3 separate regions of the Homo sapiens genome follow, and regions 1 and 2 are each linked to region 3. Evidence: promoter capture Hi-C in 16 types of primary human blood cells and fetal thymus (Javierre and others, 2016). All regions are on one chromosome and are shown on one strand. Each heading gives the region's core, a stretch centred on a gene start or on the middle of the fragment in contact. The rest is flanking DNA. Distances are from core to core; before and after follow the strand shown. Region 1 holds the start of PTPN22 (protein tyrosine phosphatase non-receptor type 22). Region 2 overlaps LINC01765 (long intergenic non-protein coding RNA 1765). Region 3 holds the start of BCAS2 (BCAS2 pre-mRNA processing factor).

The links. The method cuts DNA at HindIII sites, captures the fragments that hold promoters and counts their contacts. A CHiCAGO score of 5 or more calls a contact.
Region 1: the fragment with the promoter of PTPN22 here is called in contact with the fragment with the promoter of BCAS2 in region 3 in 2 of 17 cell types (total CD8 T cells and naive CD4 T cells); the score reaches 5.4 in total CD8 T cells.
Region 2: a fragment that was not itself captured here is called in contact with the fragment with the promoter of BCAS2 in region 3 in 1 of 17 cell types (fetal thymus); the score reaches 6.8 in fetal thymus.

The regions. Positions count from the first base shown.
Region 1 is chr1:113,870,432-113,873,905 of GRCh38, reverse strand. It overlaps PTPN22 (protein tyrosine phosphatase non-receptor type 22), which reads left to right and starts at 2,194. Exons shown (of 21, transcript NM_015967.8): 1 at 2,194-2,369. The coding sequence starts at 2,283. The region is part of intron 3 of AP4B1-AS1 (AP4B1 antisense RNA 1); the gene reads right to left. RefSeq lists enhancers at 2,189-2,448, 3,007-3,056. The HindIII fragment of the contact is 7,976 bases long and covers 1,500-3,474 here.
Region 2 is chr1:115,100,454-115,103,760 of GRCh38, reverse strand. LINC01765 (long intergenic non-protein coding RNA 1765) reads right to left here. Exons shown (of 2, transcript XR_947722.3): 2 at 1,080-1,513. Among named protein-coding and RNA genes, the nearest start is that of LINC01765, 2.5 kb to the right of the region's middle. The HindIII fragment of the contact is 6,588 bases long and covers 1-3,307 here.
Region 3 is chr1:114,580,262-114,583,897 of GRCh38, reverse strand. BCAS2 (BCAS2 pre-mRNA processing factor) reads left to right here and starts at 2,283. Exons shown (of 7, transcript NM_005872.3): 1 at 2,283-2,399; 2 at 2,507-2,599. The coding sequence starts at 2,307. DENND2C (DENN domain containing 2C) reads left to right here. Exons shown (of 21, transcript NM_001256404.2): 21 at 1-1,048. It overlaps LOC105378914 (a long non-coding RNA gene), which reads right to left and starts at 2,055. Exons shown (of 3, transcript XR_947719.4): 1 at 1,499-2,055; 2 at 1,260-1,373. The HindIII fragment of the contact is 8,807 bases long and covers 1,439-3,636 here.

The DNA of each region.
Region 1 (3,474 bases), core at 945-3,444, 710 kb after region 3:
TATTAGGCAGGTTTGCCTCATCAATTAATAAAAATTAATAAAGTTCTAGTTTTGTGTAATTGAGGACATTCTAAGGGTACAGAGAAATTATAAAACTATATTATCTTCTTTGTCCAAACATAGAAAATCATTTTCCTTTTAGGATTATGCTTTGCTACTCTGCAATTAAGCAAGTTAGTTTGGAATGTTTTTATTTTTATTTTCTTTCCCAAAGTTACCTAAGGAGTGTTTTAATTTTTATCAGTAATCATGTCTGTATCTTTAGTTCTGAGTTGCTTTATTAACTGGCTAAGGATGTTTTTGTTTTGTTTTGTTTTGTTTTTACCATATTCTGGCTTTCTCAGTGTTGTATGCCAATCTCCTAAGACAATGTTTAGAATTTAGTGGGTACTCAATAAATTTGTTGAACAACTTAATGGATTTTTAAATGTTTATTTCTAATTTTAAAAACGGTATGATAATTTTAGAAAGCAAACTTTATCATAATTCTAAAATTATGATAATTTTAGAAAGCAAACTTACACAATTGATTCTTTTTTGCTTCTTTTAGTCTTTAACTATGTACACACTTTTACATGGTTTTAGTTATTACAAACTTGAAATTTTGTATTTTTATAAATCAAAGATTTCCCATATTTTATGTTTTAAAATAGCCAAAGTAAACATCACGTTACTTAGAGCAGCAAGAAATTCTCTCTTAATTCTAGATGGGGATAATTTAAGAAATATACTATTCCTAACAAATATTGCTGAAGAATGAGGGTTTATTTTAATTTATGTATACTGGGATTGAGTTTCTTAATTTGAAATATTGTCTTTAAGTTGTCTATAACCAAGATATCTCGATGATCTTTCTTTTTTTTTTGCAGTACTTAGTAAAGAGCATGCAGTATCTTTAATGTTCAGATTAAGCAGTGTTCAGAATCATGATATCCTGAAGGAAGTTTGAATAATGTTGCAAAACAGAAAGGATTGCTAATATCTTAAATAGAGGAAGTCCTAACAACACATTTCCCAGTTTTCTTCAGGATCAAGACTAATTTTGTTAACATTTGTTGAACTTCTGCCTTCAATAAAGATGATATACTGATTTTTGGATGTTCTCACACTGAATTAGGCACTTGGGTAGACTTGTACCCATTGAGAGGTTATGCAAGCTCAAATGTGGAAAGTTTTTCTAGAAGAGCCTGCCTTTCAGGGCCAAAATGCCACAGGCACAGCATAACTTCCTGAAACAAATTTATTTCCTAAGACATTGGTTGCAGAGTAGAAATGTGTTCTTTAGAAACAGTTCTTCAGGCTTTCTGCCCTAAAAGTTACAATGTTGTCAGCAAGGTGGTTGATTTTACTTTCTTTTTGTTCCATCACAGTTTACCAGCATTACATATGCAGGGTATTGAGCTAACTGTCTGGTCAGGTGCTCCTTGTGGGGGCCACTTGCTCTAGATCCTATATAGACCAACACTCTTAGTCTTTATATCCAGAACCCAAGTGAAGCTTCAAAGGTTACTGGGAGGGTTGAAGAGGTGCTGAAATCAACACTTCCCTTAATGGAGGTCAGCACTTCCCCAGTCCTGGGAGAGACACAGACTGTCAGAAGCATCTGACTTTGCTTCATTCAAAAGGGAGTTTGAGGTATATATAGCAGACTTAAAAGTTATGAATAAAAATACCTTCTGTGATGAACAGAAGTTTCTCATTGATCACACTGACAAGAAACCTTTCGATGAACAGTCCGGGTAGAAGACATGTCACTCACTCTAAACAGTGTCTGTCTTCTTTCCTGGGCCTAACTGAACTTTGCAGAGTTCATTTGGGACATAAGGAAACAGAAGGTGTCAACTTGGCCCTTGTGCTCACTGGGAAAATGGGGAGAGACAGAACTCATTCAGGAGACCTGTAATTCTGTTCTTTCTCTGGGAGGCAAGAAGAAAGGTGAGTTTTGCATATGGGTGATGGAATGGAATAATCTCAGTTAAGCAGACCACACTTTACGTTCTAGTTAGCCTCTTGTTTGTTAAAAATTTGAATTGTAACCAGGTTCCTTTGCTGAGAAGGAAGGCACTAGGGCCCTGGAGTGAGATGATGGCTGTGTTATGTGACCACAGAAGGTGGTTACGTACTAATTTCCTCTAGGGCTTGTGATGAAGTCAGTAAACCACAGCCTTCAGCATGCTCTGCTCAGGCGGCAGCAGTGGCTTTTTGGAGGTGTCTCGGCCATGACACACATTTGACATGCCCTCCCTCAACCTACTTATAGACTATTTTTCTTGCTCTGCAGCATGGACCAAAGAGAAATTCTGCAGAAGTTCCTGGATGAGGCCCAAAGCAAGAAAATTACTAAAGAGGAGTTTGCCAATGAATTTCTGGTGAGTCCTGTATGTGACCCTCTCAGGGTAGTTACATACACTATTTAACTGACTATGGGGGTCCAATTTTCCGAGACCAAATTGCTCTTGGGATAAAGTAAATATGAGACCTTGGCGGGGAAGACAGAAAAAAAAAAGTTTGACTTCTCTGAGTGGTTTGCATGTATTTCAGGTATTCTCTCAAAATTACTGGTTTTAATATTTTGTTTGCTAGTTCTTTGGAGTTTGGTTAGGAATCCTACAGAAGACATATACAACTCCAGATGTAAAAACACTAATATTAATTGAACATCCAGATTTCCCCAGGTATCTAAGTTGTGGTTTATGCTTTATATTACTAATTTTAATTAATATTAAGAAGAAAGAGACCAATGTTAACTTTTCATGCAATATTACATTTTTAGCCTCCCCTCTGGGATTCTATTTGGTTGACAAAGGTTTTTGAAGAGCACCAAAACTACCCACTGCCACAGTTTTTTTTGTTGTTGTTGTTTGTTTTTTTAAGATTCAGAATCTTACTCTGTCACCCAGGCTGGAGTGCAGCAGTGCAACCACAGCTCACTGTAGCCTTGAACTCCTGGCCTCAAGTGATTCTCTTGCCTCAGCCTCCTGAGTAGCTGGGGCCACAGGTGTGTATCGCCATGCCTGGCTAATTTAAAAAAAAATTGTTTTTTTCTTTTTTGTAGATACGAGCCTTGCTTTTTTGCCCAGGCTTGTCTCGAACTCCTGGCTTCAAGCAATCCTCCCATCTTGCCTCCCAAAGTGCTGGGATTACAGGCATGAACCACTATGTCTGGCCATCATTTTTCTTTTCTTTTTCATATGAAAAATATATTATAACATGTGTTTTTTCAATAACAGGGCTTCCTTAACTTCTTTTGCTTGGAGAAGTGGAATGGCTAGGATGGAGAGTAGAGACAAGTGTAGGTCAAGGAGAGAAACATGAGTACAAGGTAGCTTCAGGTTGGGTGGATTAGATTACCCAGAAGAACAGTGAATCTCCTTTGAGAGAACTGTGATTATTGATGCAATGGCAGCTGGGTAGGCCTCATTCACCCTACAAGCTGAGATATCAGATAACATAGGGTGTCTAATAGTACCTATC
Region 2 (3,307 bases), core at 808-3,307, 520 kb before region 3:
ACACCACTCTCACAGGCATTGTGGGTCAGATTCACAACAGGGCAGGTAGTTACAGAGCAGCACAGCTCAGCACATATTTTTCAATGTAACATCCAGCATCTTGTTTCTTAAAGGTTCCTGACTATCTCTGTAACTGGTATTTTCTCACTGACACTGTTTTAATCTTGGGGTCTAAGCTACCACTTTGTTGTTGACTTTAATCTACATTTCCCTGGTTTCTGGGATTCAGAACATTATCGTATGTTTATTGTCCAGGTGGATTTACTCTTTTGCAAAATACTCTTTCAAGTCTTTTTGCTCATTTTTATGTGCAACAGGTACATATAAAAGGTGGATGGACTTTTATATAAAATGTAAAATAATCTGTCTTTTCTTAATTCTGTGTAGGAATTTTTAAAATATTCTCGATACTGGTTTTTTGTTGAATGGTTGCAAATATCATCTTCCATTTTATGGCAAGCCTCTTTACTCTCTTAACAGTATTTTCTGATAAATGAGGATTCTTAATTTTAACATAAAAACTCTTTTTCTTTATGGTGAGCAGGTACTTTTGTGACTAGCTTAAAACACATTTGCCTATCTGGAAGTCATATAGATATTTTCCTATATTACCTTCTGATGTTAGTTTATTGCTGCCTAACAAATGTACCCAAAGCTCAATGATGGAAAACAAAAATTATTTTGTTCTCATTCAGGTGCCTGGGTCAGCTGGTCCAGGATGGGCTCACTTTATCTTGGCTGGGCTTGGCTCCAGGCTGGGTTTGGCTGGGGCAGCTTCACCAGAGAACTCTACCCATGTGTCTCTCATCTCCCTGTCAAGGTCAGTGGGCTGGATCAGGCATATCCTTCTCATGGGGATGGCATAAGTGGAAGAGGGCAAGCAGAGATGTTCAAGGTCCCTTGAGGCCTAGGCCCAGAATGGCACACTGTCACTTCCACCAAAGGACTTAAGCCAAACATAGAGTCCAGGGAGGAAAAACATAATCTGCCCCTTTTATGAGAGGAACTGCAAAGTCACCTGGGAAAGGGCATGGGCACAGGGAGGAGAGAAGAATCGGGGCCAAAAAAGCAATAAACAATATTCTCTATAAACTTTATATTAATAGTTTTACCTTCCATTTAAGTATATACCCCAAATGGAGTTGATTTTTGTGTGTGATGTGAGATTAGGGTTAATTGTTTTTACATGGGGATACCCAGTTGCCCTAGTGTCATTCTTTGAGGACATTTTCCCACAGTGCATAGCAGTGGTACTTTCATCATAAACAAACTGTCCACATACACAAAAGTCAGTCTCTGGGCTCTTTTTCCTTTTAGTTTTTTTTTTTTTTTTTCTCTCCCAGTGCCGATACTACACTGTCCTAAATACTGTAGTTGCTTATAAATCTTGATATCTAGTAGAGCGAGTTCAGCCCACTTTGTTCTTCTTCAGTGATGTTTCAGCTATTCTTGATCCTTTGAATTTCCATATAAATTTTTCAGCATCATCTTGTCACATGCTGCCATGAAAAACCTACAAAAAATATCTTTGTGAAGATTTTTTATTGTAAATGCTTTGAATCTATACATCAAATTGGAGAGAATTGACATTTTTTAAATGTCGGTTTTGCTAATTCAAACTTAGCATATCTCTCCATTCATTAACAGCTTCCTTAACATTACCCAACAAAGACTTTAATTTTTCCCTGTAAAGTTCTTACATGTCTTTTCTAGAGAATAGATACTTCTTATGCTATTTTAAGCTATGTTCTTTTAAATTTTAGTTTCTGATTCATTACTGATCTAATGAAAAGATATTCTCACATTTATTTTTATCATCAGAAAATTTAATAAGCGCTCTTATTAATTCTAGTAACCTATTATTTTATGTAGAAAATCAAAATAAACACACAATTAGATCATCTGCAAATAATGACAACTTTCTTTCTTTCTTTCTAAGCCTTATACATTTAATTTCTCTTATTGAGCTCTCTGGTACAGTGATGAGTAGAAGTAGTGATAGCAGGAATGTGTCTTGTCACCAAAATGTTATCTTGTAGCAATGAATTCCCATCTATACCTAGTTGCCTAGAATCTTTACAACAAATCGATGTTGAATTATCAAAAGATTTTTCTGTATCTACTGAGATGACCACAGATTTTTCTCCTTTATTAATGTGGTAGGTTATACTGATTGAAATGTAAATCAACATTGTATTCCTGCCCTATACAGTCATGATGTATTAGGCTTTCTATGTATTAATGCATACCTTTTTAAATTTGGGAGAGTATATAGTAGGTGTATATATTTATGGTGTACATGAGATGTTTTGATACAGGCATGCAATGTGAAATAAGCACATCATGGAGAAGGGGGTGTCCATCCCCTCAAGCATTTGTTCTTTGAGTTAGAAACGATCCAGTTACACTCTTTATTTTAAAATGTACAATTAAGTTATTATTGACTATAGTCACCCTATTGTACTATCAAATAGTAGGTCTTCTTCATTCTTTCTATATTTTTTTGTACTTATTAACTATTCCTACCTTCCCCTCCAACTCCCCACTCCCTTTCCCAGCCTCTGGTAACTATCCTCCTACTCTATAGGTCCATGAGTTCAATTGTTTTCATTTTTAGATCCCACAAATAAGTGAGATATTACTATTTTGTTGACTATTATTTTGCTGAAGATTTTTGCATCTATGTTCATAAGTGAAATTGACCTATAATTTTCCTTTTCATTACTGTCCTGTCTTTTTCAGGTTTAGGTTTCGAGATCTTGCTACAAGTCTCATAATTTTAGTATTTTTTAAATGCTCCCTCTTTTTCTACTCTCTGGTAGAGTTTGCATAAGATTGGAATTACTTCATACCTAAACGTTTGGCAGAACACACCACTGAAGGACAATCTGGGCTGGACTTTTTTGTTTTTGTGAAAAGATCATATACAATTTTTTAATGCTTACAAGGCTATTCAAACTTCTAATTTTCATTGAGTGCATTCTGATGTTACTTTTCAAAGGAATCAGTCCATTTTACCTACCTTTCAAATTTATTTGCAGTTGTTTATATTATCCTATTATTATCTAAATCTCTGCAGATCTGGAGTTATTAATCTTTTTTTTTTCCTGACATTGGTTATTTGTGCAATCTCTCTTTTTCTTGATTATTTTCAACAGAAGTTACTGATATATTTAGGTATAAATTTACCATCTCATTGTATGTTTTCAATTTAGTCTACCTGTTTTACATTTCTTTTGTTCTCTGTGATGGTTAATTTTACATGTCAACTTGACTAGGCCAGGGGGGCCCCAAATATTTGGTCAAA
Region 3 (3,636 bases), core at 1,034-3,533:
AGAGAAAGTTTTCAGTGATGGTGCAGTGTTTTTTTTGTGTGTGTATGTGTGTGTGTGTGTGTTTTGTTTCGGTTTTTTTTTTTTTTTTTTGAGATGGAGTTTCGCTCTTTTTGCCCAGGCTGGAGTGCAATGGTGTGATCTCGGCTCACTGCAACCTCCGCCTCCCGGCTTCAAGCAATTCTCCTGCCTCAGCCTCCTGAGTAGCTGGAATTATAGGCACCCGCCACCACACCTGGCTAATTTTGTACTTTTAGTGGAGACGGGGGTTTCACCATGTTGGCCAGGCTGGTCTCGAACTCCTGACCTCAGGTGATCCACCCACCTTGGCCTCCCAAAGTGCTGGGATTACAGGCATGAGTCACTGCACCCGGCCTGTGTGTGTGTGTGTGTGTGTGTGTGTGTGTTTTCAAACTCATGGGCAAATTCAAGTTCAGATGGTGCACTTTTCATTGATTAATGTTATAGCAAATGTCAGTTTGTTTTCTTCAGTTTCTGCTGATGGTTTTAACTGGCACAGAAAGTATTTATTCAACCTTACAAAACTGTGTAAGTTGTATTGTGATACAGTTTATTGACTTGTACAGTATTGTCATTACAACCCATTCAGGTATGCATGAATCTGAAGCAGAACACCATTTAAGACTGGTGCTGTATAATATAATTCCTACAGATGTGGGTCCAGGGAATAGAACTGAGCCTGTCTTTTTTTTAATGTTAAGCAGGTTACCCCCAGTGGGGCTTCTACTAGACATCTCTCCATTTGGTCTCTTCTTACACTCCAACCCAGCAGGAACAGTTAATAATTGGATGTTTATAAAATGGGGGTAAAAGGGTTTACTGTGATGGATCCTGGCTATCCCTCTAGGAGGAGACCTTTGCTTCAGCAATGGTGTCTTCATCCTCGCAGCCTGAAGCTGCTTCATTTCCTTAGGTCTGTTGTGTTTTCTGTAAAGTGTTAGGAATTCTGGATATTTTTGTAAAAGAATCAAGATTTGTATAAAATGTTGTTTACAGATCTTTTAATGAATAAATACATAAACCCCCCACAGATCCCTTGGAGAATTCTTTAAGATCTTTTATGTCACTTAAATCTATAGCTAGCACATTTACCTAATGGTACTTCGGTAATAAGAATTAGTCTTAGACTGACCAGGCTTAATAACGGAGGTCAACATTTCCAGGCTCTTGGCAGACAAAGGCTGGGTCTAGACTGCACACTGGGCAGGGCATATAGTCTGACAACTTTATTTGGTTTTTACCTGCTTAATCAAAGGGAGGCTGCTTAGTCCAGGAGCCATGCAGAAGAGAGTGCATGGGCAGCAGCTTGAGTGGTTCGGAGGCAGTGAGGAATGCCATTCTATTACCGTTAAGTCCTAAAGGCAAAATGACAGGATTTTTAAGGAACTGAGGTTCCTTTTGATACGCAGACCATAAAGCTTCACAATTTTAATTGGAGACTGGCGCCCAATTCTAGAGTCTCTTTAAAAAATGTACTTACCCAATGCAAAGGTTTTAAGGGCACCGAGGGGGAAGGATAGTTGGGGTACAGCAAGGAAGTAAAAGAGGAATGACCCGGGGTGCAGTGGCTCACGCCTGTATTCCCCACATTTTGGGAGGCCAGGAGTTCGAGGCTAGGCTTGGCAACATAGAAAGGCTCCATCTCTACAAAAAAAATTAAAAATTAGCCAGGCATGGTGGTGTGCACCTCTAGGCCCAGCTACTCGGGAGGCTGAGGTGGAAGGATCGCTTGGGCCCGGGGGGTTGAGGCTGCAGTGAGCTATGATCACGCCACTGCACTCCAACCTGGGCAGCAGAACAAAGACCCTGTGTCTACAATAAAAAAGGAAAAAAGTCTCGCACAGAGGAAGAGAAGATTAAGGGGAGAAGGTGGGAGTAAGCAGAGGTGGGAAACCAGTTTATCTCTCCCCGCCAAATGCTGCAGCCAGTTCCCTCCAAAAGTGTTAAGGGGCTCCCTTTCCAGATATCAATGTTTTGGAGGAAACGAAAAGCCCCAACTTCAAATCGCCGCCATTCGCAGGCAAAAAAAGGGGCAGTAAGCAGAGGACAGGAAATTGAGGCCTTTCGCTGACGCAGACAAGCCAAGACGTTACGTCACGTCCGCCCAAAACAAACCAGCCCGGCAATTTCTAGATACCGGGCGGACCCGCCTTCAAAATTAGCAACTGAGCATGCACTAACGTCAATACGGAGGGAACGTGATTACATCAGTGTCAGGCGCCGGCGTAATTAAATATAACTGAGTTTACGCAGACGCAGAAAACGCAGGCAAACCTGAGGTCCTCAGAATGGCGGGCACAGGTTTGGTGGCTGGAGAGGTTGTGGTGGATGCGCTGCCGTATTTTGATCAAGGTTATGAAGCCCCTGGTGTGCGGGAAGCGGTGAGTGCGGGGTGTCTTTGTAGCTGACTCACTGCTAGCTGGCTCGGTACTGAAAGAAACATGTTACAATTTGCCACTTCTACCCTGGTCCCTATTCTCTTTCTTAGGCTGCAGCGCTGGTGGAGGAGGAAACTCGCAGATACCGACCTACTAAGAACTACCTGAGCTACCTGACAGCCCCGGATTATTCTGCCTTTGAAGTAAGTATGTCTTGAGCCTAGGTGTGAACGAGAATTCCTGTGAACCTTTATTTTGGATTGAGAGCTTTAAATTCCAGTTTTAACCATTGCCTGCATAGCTACTACTTACCTACTGTATAGGTGTCAGTCTATTGAAAACAACTAGATAGATAAGTCTTCTCCGAGGTTCTTATTCTAAGATCCATAGGAAGACTTTCTGGGGCTCCACAACTCACTTAATGCAAAAATTTGTGGCTACCATTCTTTGAGATAGGATCCATGCGTAAATTCTCAAAGGGACCCTCTCCTGCCAAGATTCACTCTACAGCAAGTGATCTAGGGTTTTTTAATATGTATAAGCCTAATTACCTAAGCTCTTTAGAACCACTGGAGAGTGGCATATTAAAGTCTAGTTATTTACCAAATGTATGTGATACGACTGAAAGGACAAACCATATCCAAGTGTATACTACTTTTTTCTCAGCCTTCTCCTTTTTTCTGTAATCTATCCGATGTTTTTATTAACACATTTCTGATTAATGTAGGCAATAATTTTCACTGATATGAATACTTTACAAGTGCTAGGTGCCATTCTAGATTCTGAGATCATAGAGATATATGGGGTTTCTTTTTTAATATATTTTGTTTTCTTTTAATTTTTCTTTTCTTTATTTAAGACAAACATCCTCTCCAAAAAAGATAGGGTTTCTGAATACAGAAAAATACAATACAGTGAGGAGCTAGATATATAAAACAAAAAGTTTACAATAGTATGTATAAATGTGTAATAATATGTAAAGGACCTATAGCGGAGGGTATGTATAAGGACAAGAGGATTAGAGAAGGGAGTGTCCATGATTGCCTAAGGAGTCAGATGCTGTTCTACTCCACACATTGAGTATGATACTATTTTAAATGTATAACCTTGAAGTACACCCAGGATTCTAGTTAGGGTCTAGTTAGCTAAATGAAATGTAAGATATCATTTCTAAATTATTGGATTCAAGTATTTCAGTATGTACAGCTTGGAGGATTTTTTCCCATTATACCTAATCGTT